2 separate regions of the Homo sapiens genome follow, and region 1 is linked to region 2. Evidence: promoter capture Hi-C in 16 types of primary human blood cells and fetal thymus (Javierre and others, 2016). All regions are on one chromosome and are shown on one strand. Each heading gives the region's core, a stretch centred on a gene start or on the middle of the fragment in contact. The rest is flanking DNA. Distances are from core to core; before and after follow the strand shown.

Region 1 (5,392 bases), core at 1,196-3,695, 150 kb after region 2:
CACAACCAAGAAAAAAAAAGAAGTTAGAACAAATTCTGAGCCTGGCTAATAGATCAGAGTCTTTAGCATTAGGCCACAGTTCTGGCTGACACCCCTAGAGCTTACTTCTCAAACTGAGATTCACACATTCCTTCATTCAACAAACATTGATTGAACATTTGTTAATACAATGTGCCAGGCACTATTCCAGAGGAGCTACAGGGAACAAAGAGACAAACATCTCTGTTTTCTTGGAGCACATGTTCTAGTGGCAGGGGTGGGGGTTTGGACAATAAAAAGATAAAATATATAGTATGTGTGCTAAAAAAAATAAAGCAGAGAAGGATGGGAAGAATAGGAGATGGATTTTATAATTATAGATATACAGATCAAGGAAGGCAAAGGGAATAGCTAAGTAAAGAACAAAGAAAGTGAAGGAATAACTCATGCAGTTACCTGGAGAAGAAAAGAACAAGTTGAAGAAAGAGCAAGTACAAGGTCCCTCAGGTGGGAGAGGAAGAGTGCCTCATAAGTTTGAGAAACAGAAGAGGTCAGTGTGGCTAGAGTGAAATGAGTGAAGGACGACTGGTGTGAGACAGGTTAACAGAGTAGGGGCACAGATTATTTAGGGCCTTGAAGGCCACTATAAAGGCTTTGAGTGAGATGGGAAGCCATTAAAGGTTCTGAGAAGAGAAGTGGCAATTTATGTCTTAATAGGATAACTTTGGCTGCTGTACTGAAAACAGACTGAAGACTTAGTTACTACAGTAGAAGCAGGGAGACTAATTAGAAGGCTTCTGAAGTAATGATGGTGACTTGAACCAGGGTGTAAGCAGTACTGTTGGTAAGAAGTGGTCAGATCCTGAATTCATTCTCAAGAAAGAGCATCAAGATTTGTTGATGGGCTGCATATGGCATATGTGAGAAAGGGTAGAGGAGTTGAGGATATCTCTAAGGTTTTTTTTTTTTTTGAGACGGAGTCTCACTTTGTCGCCAGGCTGGAGTGCACTGGCACGATCTCGGCTCACTGCAACTTCCGACTCCCTGGTTCAAGCGATTCTTCTGCCTCAGCCTCCTGAGGACCTGGGATTATAGGCACATGCCACCATACCCAGTTAATTTTTGTATTTTTGATAGAGACGGGGTTTCACCATGTTGGCCAGGATGGTTTTGATCTCCTGACCTTGTGATCCGCCCACCTCAGCCTCCCAAAGTGCTGGGATTACAGCCATGAGCCACCACACCTGGCCATCTCCAAGGTTTTGGACTGAGAAATAAGAAGGAGTTGGTATTTACCGAAATGGAAATATTTTGGGGGGGGAACAATATTTGGGGGCAAAAAACTCAGTTTTGAATGCTACATTTAAAATCCAGTTTAGACATCCAAGTGGAGATGTCAGGTAGCTGGAGAGAGGACTCTGGAGTAGAGGGGAAATGTGTAAGCTGGAGATGTAAATTTGGAAATTATCAGTAAAGAGAAGATACTGAAAGCTTTCAGACGAGAGGTTAACAGTTTACTATTGATCTCTGTAAATTCCATTTTCTGCCTGGGTCTCAGGGTTGATCCCTCGCATTGTGCAGCTGATCAAAAACTTCAAGTTCATTAAAACTCCTGGGTAAGCTTTCTGACCCCAGAGCGGTTTAAGAAGCACCAAACTTTTAAGAAGCACCAACCTTTTCCTTATTGTTCACCTTTAATTGCTCAGTCAGCATGATTCTACCTCATTGAATCCAGAAATAATTTATTACATTACTGGACATCTTAATAAAAAAAAGTCAAAGTCTTGCTTGATAAACTGAACACAATAAATGGACTTTGTGTATGGCAACTTCACTTTTAGAAGAATTTGTCGTGAATTATTAGACTCTAGCTTTTGACCTTCCCCAGTCTTTGACTCTATGCTTAAGAAATAACTGTGGGCTAAGCTGCCTGGTATTCACATCAGCTACTTGATGCTAATCAGGGCTTGCCTATACTTATTTTTTTGGGCAGGGGAGAAAGGGTCTCTCACTGTAGCTTTGGCTTCCAGGCTCAAGTGATCCTCCCACCTCAGCCTCCTGAGTAGCTAGGACTACAGCCACCATGCCTGGCTAATGTTATTTTTTTGTAGAGACGGGATCTCACTATATTGCCCAGGCTAGTCTCGAACTCCTGAGCTAAAGTGATCCTCCAGCCTTGGCCTCCCAAAGTGCTGGTATTACAGGCATGAACCACTGCACTCAGCTGCCTATACTGTAATAATGCCAGAAGAGTCAGGGCTAATGGTCATTATTTTTTGATGAAAGAGTTAACAATTTTTGCCCTCTTTATTTTTATCTTGTCCCACTTTTGGATGTATGAGATGGACGTCTTCCTGCTACAGGAAGCATTCTTTTATGAATAAATGATACATTTTTACTAGCATTCCGCAGGAATGACTTTAACTGACAACTGGCCATGTTAGCTACTGCCGGCAAGAGGGAGCCTGAATGAACTGTTCTAAAACAAGTTGTAATTTTTTGATAAACAACCCTGTTTTTTTCTGGATTATAGATAATTGTGTAAATCAAATCCCCTCTCAATTGGTTAATTGCTATATGTTTTAAAATTTTTTAAGCATAGAAAAGAAAATACATTTTTTCAAAGCTAAATGCACTGAGGATGATATATTTTTCCATGTTAAGGGTTCCTTGAAAATTGTCTAGACTAAAACTACTGGGTTTATGTTAGAAGCAGAAGAACTTGAGGCTCCAGTCACCTACATCAGAATTAGAACAGATTCAAAGTCATGTTCTGAGGAAAATTCTGGTCGTGCCTAGGGTACTCCTTTAGCTGAACCAAACGTAGCCTTCTTGTTAAGCTCACCTCACTTTTCACATACCTCCCCTGCATCATTTAACTAATTTTAATTTAATTGATAGCTATTTTTTAAACACCTACCATGGGCCAGGCACTGTGTTAAGCACTGTGTAAGTAGAGTAAGAAACACTGACATAATTTCTGCCTTCAGAGAGGGTGAACATTCATACTTGCCAGGGCAAGTATAATCTCAGGTTCAGGGACACCCAATACTTAGTAACTAAGTTCAGTAGAATCAATGTTATGACAGGTTTTTTGAAGTTAATTCTCCCCCAGGTATTTTTAAATCTGCCTCTGGATGATCAAACCAGCAAAAAAATCACATATAGACTACTGTACAACCAGATCATTTGGAGATGGGTTCTAAAAAAATCAAACCAATGGTACAAAAATAAAATGGGGGCGGGAATAAGGAAAATGCAAAAATATGCATCATAAAGCCCTATACATTTATTATAGGTAAAACTTATTTCTAAGCTTTCTAGCAACCTCTCTTAAGGAGGAAAACATGATCAGTTGCATAGTCCATAATGTCTATTACATAAAAATAATACAAAAGTAAATAAAACTTCCTGAGAGAAATTACAATTATTTCTCTCACGAAAAAAAGTCTGTCTTGAGAGGCTTCTCCTAACTCTCTTTCAAGACAAGAATGAGGAAGATGTTGGGTGGCAGAGACAACAAGCTAAGAAAGTTCATGCTAGGCTCTACTAACGTTCAAATGAACATAAGTGATGACCCTGAATTTGAAGACTTAAAAATTTTGTGACAGTTTTTAGCTTTTCTCCACATTTCCAATTTGTTCCATTTGTTTTTTGTTGTAAATAACCATATCCGTTCCTAGTGTGTCAAAGATTGCCAACTATTCCACAGTATTCATGCTCTTCTTTTTTCCTATACTGAATATTCCTTCCAATTTTTAAAGCAGGATACAGAGTTGCCCAGCTAGAGACTGTTTCTCAGCTTCCCTTGTAGCTAGATGTGGCCACATCACCAAGTTCTTGTCACTGGAATGAATGCCAGTGTAAATGATGTACAGTAAGTCCACACTTAATGTCGATAGGTTTTTGGAAACTGTGACAACACTGAACAAAAAGAAGTTAGTTGACAGCCTGCTGTCTGATGTTTCCTTTAAAGTCGCAGTTGCCAGGAACCTATCAACTTAAGTGAAGATCTACTGTATGTAACTTCCTGTCATTTCCTTACAAGGAACTACTTGTTCTTCACCTCTTCTCTTTCCTCCTTCCCACTGCCTGCAAGATGCACATGTGCTGCTGAGCCAGTTTTTTTGTTTTAGCGGTTAATGACAGGACAAGAAACAGAAGCAGCTCCGGTCCCTAGGGCAAAGTAGTCTACCCACCCCAATCTACCTGCCTACCTCTGAATTATTTCAAAAGAAAGAAATAAACTTCTATATTATTTGAGACATTGTATTTTTAGGTTCCTTTATTACATCAGTGTAGTCAGTACACCAACAAATACAGTTAGAAAACCTAAAAAAGGTGGTATATTTCCTTGAGGGCCCAACAAGGTGAAAGAGCCAGAGAGAACATAACTTTGTTCTGTGAAATATGAATGGAAAAAACTTCTCTGGAAGGGAAATATATAAGAGCAATAGAAGAAATTACTGGGAGTGGTACAGAAACCACTCTAGGACTTAAAAGTGTCCTAGAGGAGACTTGTGGGTGATGACCAACATTTAAGCAGAAACACAAATGACATTCAAAAGCAAAGATACGCTTTTAGTCATAAAGACTTCTATCATGAAAACTATTTACATTAACAAAAATACATTATTAACTTTGGCAATTTTATATAACTGATTATAATGATTTTAATAAGACGTAAGATGTCAGAGATCATCCATAACAATGTAGCATAGCAGAGTCAAGCTAGAGCTGTTGAAACTATTTTTGCTAACTTACGTTTCATGGGTGCCAAAAAAGAAGATAGGATACTTGTTTGCTGGAGGCTTCACAGCGCCCTCTGGGAGTTCATCAATCTATGAAAGATACATTTAGTTACTGAGTGAGTGGTTATCATAAATACAATGTGAGCATTGTTCTGATAATTTACTGCTAATTTCAAAATAAAATCAATCAAAACTCAGATAGTTTTTTAGAACTTTACAAAATGATTCTAAAGTTCCTATTTGGCCCACCACATGGAAGTCAACTCTAGGAATGGATTACAACCATTATAATAATTTATAAGCAGGAGCCAAAACTACTCATTTCCTTTGACTCAACAGAATTATTCCGGGGAATCTGTCCTAGTGAAAAATTAGAGTAACCAAAAAAAAAAAAAAAAAAAAAAAAAAAGAATACAAAAAGATGTACTTCTTTTGAGTAACAGTGAATACATATACATCCCTAGAAACATAAATAATGCATAACAGAATTATAAAAACTTAACTTGATGAACTATTATGCAGTCATTAAAAGACATCATCTCTTGCCTGGACTACTACAAGTCTCTCCTCCCATCCATTTAAAGTAGAATTCCCTTTGAAAATGCACATCTGATTATGTCACTTCCTTACTTCAAATCTGTCTATAGCTTCTCATTGCTTAC
Region 2 (5,269 bases), core at 863-3,362:
GAGGTGAAAAAGACCTTCAAAAGAATTTAGAGCAATGGTTTTTGAACTTTTTTTCCTTTAGAATCCCTTCCCCCAATTTTCTCCAGAATCCCAATATGTAAAACAAATGTAAACAGAGCTAGTCAGGAGCCCTGTCTGCCTGGCCTCCTCCTTGCCCAAAGCTGATTCCTGAGGCACCTCCAGCACTCCAGAGAATAGCCTGAAAGCCTCTAACTTAGTCCAACGATCTCATCTGACAGATGAAAAAACTGGACCCATGAATGTTTTATACTGTTTTGATTTAAAACAAATTCGCACAGGAACTGATCACGGGTCTCAGATCTCAAGTTTTCTCCCTCTCCTTAGGCCAGTGATCATTAAACTACACTAAAATGTCTCTTCTTTCTCTGGCCAATGTCTCCAGTTTTGGAACAGGACAAACTAAGAATAATCCAGACTACACACAAGTTTCCATAACTGTCCTTTCTAAAATACTGTATTTTTAAAGAGGAAAATATACAATGGTTTTCGTGTAACTTGGCATGATTTAAAGATATATTCACTTTAAGACACCTTTACATTAGAATCTAGAATTTTAAAATGGAGAAGCCTCTAACTGCAGATGTGAAAAATCAACTGTCATAGAATAAGCTTTCAGCTAACCAAAGCAAAGGAGGGCTGTAGGAGACACCTGATTCACACTTGAATCCCACCCCAGTGTCCAGGTATACCTGTTACAGCATTTTGTTTGGAGCCAGGTTTTGCATGGATGGCTATGGTGACGCATCCTTTAGGATCAACTGCCACAGGACCTAAGGGAGGAAGTGGTCTCTCTGGTTCCTTGCTCTGGCTTTTACCCTAAAATGACAACCACACAACTTTACAGGTTACAAAATATTTTCCCACACATTTAATTTGATTCTTCCACTACCCCCTTTCACCCTTAACAGACAAACTAGGCTCATCAGTGGTGTCCAGGGACTTCTGGCCACCTAGAAAGCTTTTCCCACAACCTTCAAGGCTCTACTCAATTTTCCCACGAAGGGTTCCCATCAACCCAACAGTGTTTTTTCCCCCCTTGCAAGAAAACCTAACTCTGGCTTCTAAACCTTAATGCTTGCTCCTCCCTCTGCTTTGTATTTCCAATTCCTTGGGGGCAGGGATCATTTATTATTCATCATTGTATCTCATGCAGTCGGAGCTAATAAATGTTGGTGAAAGTGTGTATGTCTGCATGTTGCGGGAAAGGGAGGAAAAAAAAATAGTGCTTGATATTTAAAGGCCTGTTATGGGACAGGGGCTGTGCTAGGAACTTTCGTTCAACAAATATGTAGGCAATGGATATGTAAAGATGAAAAGGTACATGGTCCTTGCTCTCAAGGAGCTCGGACTGCTGCGAGGGAGAAAGAACATACAAAATTATAATACACTGTGCTAAGTGCACCGATGAGATAGGCACAGAACATTACCCCACAGGCAAATCAGCATTGGGGCACTGGAGAATGCTGCCAGCAGGAGGCAGTGCTTGAGCTGAGTCTGAGAAACGGACTGGGGTTGGCCAAACAAAGATGGTGGAAATGGGAGTGCTGTATTCTTGACAGAAGGGGTGCGATCAGCCAAAGCAAGGGAGGAGAAAGCAGAATACAGCCTCCTGGGGAAACGCAGGTCATGCCGCTGCGGGAACATGAATTGCTGGACTGGGAGTGCGGGTAGGAGGCCAAAGGTCAGCACACGCAGCCCAAGGAGAGCTCGGCTGCCGCCGGGCCCAGCGCTCAGAAATCACCAGGTGGACGGCAGCGCAGCCTACTGAGGCGGGGCGACGGCAGCAGGCCGCAGCTCTGGGGGTGGCGGCGGCTGTCCTGAGCCCCGGAACTGAGAGACGGCAAGCCGCTGGCAGTGCCTCCACTCACTCCCGGGCCCCGCTTCTCCCGCGCTCTTCAACAAGTACCCCTGAGGCCCACCCCTCTGCCGCCACGGGACCTGCTACTGGCCTTGGTCGTCGCACCAGCCTTCTTAGGCATCTCGGCGCAAAGAAGCCGAGCGGAGCCCCGAGTATTGGGTGTTGCCCGAAGGTGCCTCAGCCCGCTGCGGAGCCGCAGCATCCCCGCCTGGGAAGGCGCCGGAAGAGCCCTCTGCGCTTGCGCAGGTAGCCGGCAGGAGCGGCCCCACCGCCCGGCGCATCCGCTCTGGCCAGAGGGCGACACCTTAAGGCCGGCGGGAGCGAGTCTCGTGGCCGCAGAACATGCGCGAGTCTCTTTTGTTCTGGAACGGGCCGAGCCCCAGGAAGTGGAGCTGCGGAGCTGAGGCCTCACCGTGTCTTGGCCCACCCTGCTCAGCTGATAGGAAGGTGTGTCACCTCTTTCCTAATCGGGGAAAGAAAGGTATTGTCACTTCTCAGAATTGGAGAGCGCGGCAAGGAGTGCACAGGGCCAGGTGTCTTCTCGCTCCCACAGCCAAGCAGCAGATGCAGAGTCCCACGCGCTGCCTGTGGCCATCAAGTCGATATAGAGCCTCGTGGCGGCTTGGCCCTTGTGAATCTTCCACGTATCGATGGCGCACCTACCTTGTGCCAGGCGCAGCGGATCCCACAATGTAAAAGAAGAGGAAATACACTGCGACATGTGATATGGAGAGACATGAAACAAATCAGCAGAGGCAAGATCATGGAGTCACTGAAGGCTTTCAAGCAAGGGATTATTAGCAGCCCAATTTGCTGGGTTTTAGAAAGACACCGGCTGCACTGTGGCCGACAGAGGAAAAGCCAGAGACAGGGAGATCCGCCCCCTAAATGGGAGAGGGTGGCCTGAACTAGAGTAACCGCAGGGAGGGTGGAGCGCTGATCATTTCAAGGATCTTCAGGAACTGAAATGATCAGAACTTGGGAATGACTGCATGTGCGAATAAGGGGGAAAAGTCAAGGAAATGCCCAGGTTTGGGGCCCAAGGAACAGGTTTGGGAGGCCGAGGTGAGGAGTTCAGCTTTGGACATAATGAGTTTGAGATGCCCACAGGACATCCAAATACAAATGTTAAAGGGGTAACTGAATATATGTGACTGGAGTTTGCGAAATCAAGGCTGGTGATAGAGATTCTGGAATCTTCTGAAAGCAGATGGCAATTGAAGCTATGGAAATGGATGAGAGAGTGTGTAAAGAGCACGAGGGCCCAGGTTAGAACAGCAAGGGCAGGTAGAGAAGTCACCAAAGGACACTGACCAGGTAGGAGTACGGTGTAACGGCAGCTAAAGAAGGGCGCTTCAAGAGGGAACATCAACAGTGATGAACACTCTGGAGAGAACATGTCACATGTAACGACTGAGAAGTGGCCACAAGATTTAGAAATCAGGGTGGTGGTGGTGACCCGGGCTACAGCAGTTTTAGTGGAGAGAAGGAAATGGAGATAATTGTAGAGAATAATCCAGTGACTTCACTGTGAAGGAGCAATTGGTATCTGGAGGGGCACATGACATTCAGAGACTTATTTTTATCATATTTGAAGATTGGTAGGAAAGAGCCAGGAGAAGAGAGGTTACAGCAGAGGACGGTTCCTGAAGAGGTAGGATCTGAGCTCAAGTAGAGATTGAGTTCTCTACAGGAGGCCTTAGACACTCCTTCCTTCCTAAGGGAAAGCTTAGGTGGACATGTAGCTGTGTTTGTAGGTTTGGTGATGGGAGGTGGAATTTCTTTCATTAACTAAGGCGGGGGAGGTGTTGAAGGTATATTGGGACTCTTGAGAATGGCAAAGGGCTGACTATTGCAACTCACCCAGCGGTAGACAGTTAAGGGAGACCGTGAAATCATCTATGATCCCAATCTATAGTTACCTTATTTTATTTTTGTTTATTTTTGAGACAGGGGGATGGGAAGAGCCTGTCGCCCAGGCTGGAGTGCAGTGGCGGGATCTCGGCTCACTGCAACCTCCGCCTCCTAGGTTCAAGCAATTCTCCCTGCCTCAGCCTCCAGAGTAGCTGGGACTACAGGCGCGCGCCACCACACCCATTTTTTGTATTTTTAGTAGAGACGGGCGTTTCGCCATTTCGCCCAGGCTGGTCTCGAACTCCTGAGCTCAGGCAATCCACCCACTTCGGCCTCCCAAAGTGCTAGGATTACAGGCGTGAGCTAGCGCCTGGCCTATAGTTACGTTACTTTAGATGCCTGGATTCACCAGCTAAGAAGTTTTTTTTTTAATTAAATTTTTTTTTGGCCCCAGTGCTACTACCAAAGCAGTCAGGAAGTTGAAGATAAGGCAGACAACTGGATTGATTCAGGTATATTTAAGTGGGTTGAGGGTTATTGATGAAATGGTTAAAGTTATTAAAGACCAAAGGTGGAGAGGGGTTGAGGGAGACCAAAAGTAGAGTCTAACTGGGTAAAGAAGGAAGTAAAGAAGAAAAGAACAGAGAGGACAAGGGGCTGCAGTCTTAGGTTCAATAACGGGTGTAACTGGAATGTGAGTGAGAGCTGGAAGAAACACCAAAGGTTGTGGCCAGAGAGTGGGATGTCTGAATTTCCTATTTCAGATGTAGAGCAATTCCACATCATGATAGGGTATATGGTGTGGCCATGATAAGGAATGGTGAAGGTTGCTGGAGGTAAAGAAGAAACTGGAAACCTAGGTGTAGCTGGGTTGTCCACATGGCCACTGAGGCCATGCAGTATAAAGGCTTGAGCAGAAGAAAGTGAGCCAGGTGTTAAACCAAAACCATATTTCCCTTCTTTGAAATCAGTTAAGAATTGAGGCACAAAAGCTGAACCAGCATTATATAGCAGTCATTTGTAGAATCTGCTTTGGGTGAAGTCACGTCAGCCTCAATTAGAGGTTTGGCAGTTGTCATGGAAATAAAGGGGACGTCTGTGAAGGTGAGTTACGATGGCATCTGGCTAGATGGGTGAGGAGAGCTAAGAGGTGCTCTGCTGTGAACCATTCAGCCTTTCCCACACGTGACTCAGGAGTAGGGGATATGAGGACTTCATTGCACCAGTGGGGAGGAGAAAAGCCATCCGCCCCATGTGCCACCAAACTGTGCACCTGACTTGTTGCTCCTGCCCACATCCCTGCCTCCTGAAGGGAGAGAGAGGCAGAGTGGGAAGACATATTGCCTAATGGTGAGGGAAAACACAGGGACTGATTCAAATGGCAGGAAACCCCTTGTAAATGTTTGTGGTGGTTCACATTTTATTGAGACAGGATCTCGCCATGTTGCTCAGGCTGGTCTCAAGCTCTTGGATTCAAGCAATGCTCCTGCCTCAGCTTCCTCAGTAGCTGCGCAACTACAGGCCTCATTTTATCTT

What was found. Contacts are between HindIII fragments. The CHiCAGO score rates a contact against its expected background, and 5 or more counts as called.
Region 1: a contact is called between a fragment that was not itself captured here and the fragment with the promoter of C15orf40 in region 2, in 3 of 17 cell types (megakaryocytes, endothelial precursors and erythroblasts). The highest score is 9.5, in megakaryocytes.

What each region holds. Positions count from the first base shown.
Region 1 is chr15:83,159,256-83,164,647 of GRCh38, forward strand. HDGFL3 (HDGF like 3) reads right to left here. Exons shown (of 6, transcript NM_016073.4): 2 at 4,744-4,820. Among named protein-coding and RNA genes, the nearest start is that of HDGFL3, 46 kb to the right of the region's middle. The HindIII fragment of the contact is 1,695 bases long and covers 1,599-3,293 here.
Region 2 is chr15:83,009,527-83,014,795 of GRCh38, forward strand. C15orf40 (chromosome 15 open reading frame 40) reads right to left here and starts at 2,113. Exons shown (of 4, transcript NM_144597.3): 1 at 1,971-2,113; 2 at 711-837. The coding sequence starts at 2,081. LOC124903542 (a long non-coding RNA gene) reads left to right here and starts at 2,215. Exons shown (of 2, transcript XR_007064742.1): 1 at 2,215-3,533. RefSeq lists an enhancer at 2,291-2,350. The HindIII fragment of the contact is 2,628 bases long and covers 978-3,605 here.